2 separate regions of the Homo sapiens genome follow, and region 2 is linked to region 1. The links are contacts of gene promoters, found by promoter capture Hi-C in human tissues and cell types (Jung and others, 2019). All regions are on one chromosome and are shown on one strand. The core of a region is centred on a gene start or on the middle of the fragment in contact, and the rest is flanking DNA. Distances in the headings are between cores, read along the strand shown. Region 1 holds the start of NKAIN1 (sodium/potassium transporting ATPase interacting 1). Region 2 has its middle 24 kb from the start of LINC01226.

Evidence for each region. Contacts are between HindIII fragments. The study calls those that stand out against the background at their distance.
Region 2: a fragment that was not itself captured here is called in contact with the fragment with the promoter of NKAIN1 in region 1 in 3 of the 25 tissues and cell types used here (dorsolateral prefrontal cortex, lymphoblastoid cells and mesenchymal stem cells).

The regions. Positions count from the first base shown.
Region 1 is chr1:31,238,593-31,241,292 of GRCh38, reverse strand. It overlaps NKAIN1 (sodium/potassium transporting ATPase interacting 1), which reads left to right and starts at 1,406. Exons shown (of 7, transcript NM_024522.3): 1 at 1,406-1,799. The coding sequence starts at 1,746. The HindIII fragment of the contact is 31,179 bases long and covers 1-2,700 here.
Region 2 is chr1:31,492,946-31,495,645 of GRCh38, reverse strand. No RefSeq gene overlaps it. Among named protein-coding and RNA genes, the nearest start is that of LINC01226, 24 kb to the left of the region's middle. The HindIII fragment of the contact is 6,478 bases long and covers 1-2,700 here.

The sequences.
Region 1 (2,700 bases), core at 157-2,656:
CAAGCGATTCTCCTGCCTCAACCTCCTGAGTAGCTGGGATTACAGGTGCCTGATACCATCCCTGCCTAATTTTTGTATTTTTAGTAGAGATGGGGTTTCACCACGTTGGCCAGGCTGGTCTCGAACTCCTGAACTCAGGTGATCCACTCACTTTTGGGAGGCCGATCTCCACTCAGGTGGAGGTTGCAGTGAGCTGATTCAGCCTCCCAAAGTGCTGAAATTACAGGTGTGAGCCACCGTGCCACGTTTCTTCTTTAATATTCTTTAGAGTATTCATCAGAACTTTGCGTATTTATTTGTATATTTCCTTGTTTTAATGACAATCCCTCACTAGACTGTGTGCTCAATGAGGGCAGAGATTTTGTCGGGTTTTGTTCCCTTATCCCCAGCAGAGAACCTGGCACATAGTGGGTATTTCATAAATGTTAGTTGGAAAGTACAGTTTATAGAATGTAGTGACAGATCAGATGTAATTGTAGGGAAGCCTGGAGGATGACCTAGGAAATTCCACTTGGGTGATGCTAATTGCCAAGGTGAATATAGGAAGTTAGGAGTGGGACAGGAATGATTATGTGGATTTGAGATGTGTCCAGTTCGAGGGCTTTTGGGGGTGGCTTGGAGAAGGCAATCTTCTGCTGGGAAACTTCTGACTCTGTCCCTACTGCAGCCCAGGGTAGGGGCTCCCTACCTCCACCTGGGCAGATCTCTGCCATCACCCATCTCACTGGCGTGCTCTTGGGAGCCTATCTGTTCCCTGGGCGGTGCAGCTCTACGGGATTTGGAACAGTGTTGCAGGTCTCATCTCTGGCTCGCAGGGCCCCCAGGGGTGTGTATGCAGTCAGGGCTCAATAAATGCCAGTAGACGGAAAGAAGGAAGGCGAAAAATGTGGCCAGACACTCAGGGGAGAGGCTGGGGTGAGGAGCAGATCTGGGAACGTAAATAGAACTAGAAGTCCAAGTTGGAACCCTGGAGCCCTAGAGACAGGGTGGACAAAAAAGTGTTCCAAGCCAGGAGGCCAGGCACAGGGCTAAGCGCTTTATTCACATGACTGCATTTCATCTTCATATCTACACTAAAGAGGCATAATTATTCCTACTTTGTTCATGAGAAAACAGGTCCAGAGAGGTGACGTGATTTGCCCAAGGTCACACAGCGAGTGAGCAGCAAAGTCTGGATTTGACTCAGGGCTGTTGTCCCCTAAGCCCGCACGCACTCTTCCACTTCACTCCCTGCCTCTCCAACCCTCCACCTCCCTATCCCTCTCCCCTCCCCTCCGGCGGCTCCCCCGCCCCACCCCTCTGCCGTTCCCCCCAACTCCCTCCCTGTCGGTGGCGGCGGCGGAGCCACGTGGTGGGGCCGGGAAGCCGCGGCCGACGAGAGCCCGGGCGACTGCCCCAGCTGGGCAGTGCTGCTCTGCGCTGCGCCGCGCTCGGGGCTCGCTCTCCTTGCTCCGCGCTCCCCGCCAGCCGCCCCGGGGCAGGAGGCGCGCCTGACGGACGGCCCGCTAGACAAAGGAGGCGCGGCTCGGCGGGGCCAGCGCGCGGACGGACGGACCATGGACTCGGAGCGCGGGCGGCCGGCCCCAGCCTTGGGGACCGGACACTCCCGGGCCCGGCCCTAGGCGCCCGGCCCCGCCGCCCGGCGCGCCCAGCGGGGAGGACGTGGAGCCCGCGCGGCGCGAGCAGGCGGCGGCCGCGGAGCAAGAAGGGCGCCGCGGCGTGCGGCCCGCGCAGCCCCCGGAGCCATGGGCAAGTGCAGCGGGCGCTGCACGCTGGTCGCCTTCTGCTGCCTGCAGCTGGTAAGCGTCGCGTGCCCAGGCAGTCGGGGCAGGGTGGGGCGCGGCGGGGCGCGGTCCCAGGGCGTGCGGGTGGGGTTGCGTGTGTCTCTGTGTGTGTGTCTGGTGCGTGTGCCCGGGCGGGGGGTGGTCTGGAGTCTCGGAGCGGTCGGGCGGAGCCTGCTCCCGCTGGCCGGGCTGTCTCTTTGTGTGCGCTTCTCGCTGCTGTGCCCGGCGCTCCTCCGGTCCCCAAGTGCGTCCTGTGCGCGAGTCCCCGGCCCGCCCGCACTGTACAAGTGGCCTCCTGTTGGGGGATGCGCTGTGGGACGGTGGCTTGCTGGGACTGGGGGTGTGTCTGAGGCTGATCTGTGGATCCGTTGAGGTCCTGCTGTGTGTTTCCCTCTAGATCCCTCGTTTGCATGGGTCTCTCCCTTCCTCTGGGTCTCTGCCTCTGATCACCACCCCTGTGTGAGCGTTTCTCACAAAGTCTCTGCTCCGGCGTGTGTCTCTCAGGGTTTCTCTTTGGTGTGTCTCTAAATCGCTGACCATTTCTGGCCCATGTTCATCTGTGTTCTGGGATCTTAGACTCCAAGAACCCTCCAATCCTTTGTGTTGTTTCTGCCTCCCTTCACCTTCCTGACCGGGCAGTCCTGGGAAAGGAGAGCCACCTCCCTGGAGAGGGTCACCAGGAGCTGCCAGATCCTGGGCCAGCCTGACCCAGCCTGGACCACACTTCCTGCTTTGGTCTGGCCGCTGTGGCCATGGGGGTTCCATCAGTCATCAGTTCCACCCACCAGAGCAGCTCCTCTGCCGGGGCCAGCAACAGTGGGGATGGGGACACTTGGGTGCCCTAGGGAGGACCAGAGCATCTGAGGACACTGTGCCTAGCCCCAGCATAGGGAACTCAGGTTCTTGTCTCAGGGAG
Region 2 (2,700 bases), core at 96-2,595, 250 kb before region 1:
GCAAAGACTTGGAACCAACCTAAATGTCCATCAATGATAGACTGGATTAAGAAAATGTGGCACATATACACCATGGAATACTATGCAGCCATAAAAAAGGATGAGTTCATGTCCTTTGTAGGGACATGGATGAAGCTGGAAACCATCATTCTCAGCAAACTATTGCAAAGACGAAAAACCAAGCACCGCATGTTCTCACTCATAGGTGGGAATTGAACAATGAGAGCACTTGGACACAGGGTGGGGAACATCACACACCGGAGCCTGTTGTGTGGTGGGCGGAGTGGGGAGGGATAGCATTAGGAGATATACCTAATGTAAATGACGAGTTAATGGGTGCAGCACACCAACATGGCACATGTATGCATATGTAACAAACCTGCACGTTATGCACATGTACCCTAGAACTTAAAGTATAATAATAAAAAAATTAAATTAAAAAAACCAAAACACAACAAAACAAAAAACAGATTGCACAATCTCTGCATCCATCCAGGGGGGTCCAGGATCACCAGTTATTCTCTTATTAAAAAAGTTAAATATATATATAAAATATATAATATATACATGTATTATATATAATATATATAAAATATATTATATATACATGTATTATATATAATATATATAAAATATATTATATATACATGTATTATATATAATATATATAAAATATATATATTATATATAATATATATAAAATATATATATTATATATATTATATAATATATATAATATATATTATATATAATATATATAATATATATATAATATATATATTATATATAATATATATAATATATATAATATATATATTATATATAATATATATAATATATATATTATATATATATAATATATATATTATATATATATATATATTTTTTGAGACAGAGTCTCACTCAGTCTCCCAGGCTGGAGTGCAATGGCATGATCTCGGCTCACTGCAATCTCTGCCTCTTGAGTTCAAGCGATTCTCCTGTCTCAGCCTCCTGAGTACCTGGGATTACAGGGACCCGCCACCACATCCATCTAATTTTTTGTATTTTAGTAGAGACAGGGTTTCACCATGTTGCCCAGGCTGATCTCGAACTCCTGAGCTCAGACAATCCACCTGCCTTGGTCTCCCAAAGTGCTAGGATTCCAGGCCTCCCAAAGTGCTGGGATTTAAAAAATCAGCCAGGTGCAGTGGCACATGCCTGTAATCCCAGCACCTTGGGAGGCCGAGGAGGGCAGATCACTTGAGGCCAGGAGTTTGAGACCAACCTGGCCAACATGGCAAAATCCTGTCTCTACTAAAAATACAAAAAAATTAGCCAGGCGTGGTGGCGCACACCTGTAGTCCCAGCTACTTGAGGAGCTAAGGCAGGAGAATCGCTTGAACCCAGGGAACAGAGGTTGCAGTGAGCAGAGATCATGCCACTGCACTCCAGCCTGGGTGACAGAGCAAGACTCCATCTCAAAAAAAAAAAAAAAAAGAGAGAGAGAATTGACTAAAGTATCTTTAAAAGAATTACTTTCTAAGCTTGGATGTGACACAAGAGATCACACTTGTGAAAGATCATCAGGTTTGGTGGCACCTGATTTATAATTTGTGTATATTCATAAATATAAAACTCAGCTCTTCCTGGGAGTTAGGACACCTGGGGATTAACTAAAAGGATATTGTGGCCTGAATAAGCCACTCAGGTTTCAGTTCCCTTGACTATAAAACCTTAATAAGTTATTTAATGCAGAGATTGTGTTCTTCTTCTGAATCCCAGCTTCTAATAAAATTATGTCACCTTTCCTGATCCTCCATTTCCTCATCTGAAAAATGGAATTAATATGTTAGTGTTTGATACCAGCATTGTTTTGAGGATTAAATGAGATAATCTAAGTAAAGATCTTAGTTTAAACCGTGTTAATTGAAATCCCTGGGGTTAGAGGACTGTTCCTGGCCTCATCTGCCTGATACACATGTTAGCAGAAAGTTCTTAGCAAATGGCTCTGACAGCTCTATCTTTCTCAGAGGGCTGTGACCGGCTTGTGCAGAGCTCTGGTGGGTAAATAGTTTTCAGCTCATTCTGCCTGATTATATCCTCATTTCTTCTGGAACATCACTACAAACAAAGCAACAAGTTTGATCCTATGAACTAAGCATGGAGTTGGAATTCAAGGGTGACTAGCCAACAATGGGGGTTAGACCCTTTAGGCCCTGGGATGGCCATGTGAATAAAGTAAAAAATACTTCAGTTTTTCTTTAACTATGCTATTAAAGGTCTTCTTTATGTGCAATATCTGAAGCTTCACCTTAAGGGAGATATTTCACAAAAATAAGATGCCAATGTTATTTTGCCTTAAATGTATAAAAACTATCATCTGTTTTGTAGCAAGGATCAGAAGAAAAATAAACCAGGTCCAACATTTCTATGACTCCCATGTTGGATTAATGAATATGGAATCTTTATAAATTATGCATTGCATAATTTCACTATTTCTTATCATCCTCATAACAATCCCATGAAGCACTAATCATCATCTCCATTTTACAGATGAAAAATCAGAGGCTTACAGATGTTTAAAATGAAGAATTTCCATGGTTGTCAGTAAGTGGCAGAGCCAGGATTCAAACATGGGTCTGTCTGATTCCAGACCCCAGGCTTCTTCCACCAGTGCTTAACTCATTGAATAGTATTCACAACTGTTGGGAACAGGCC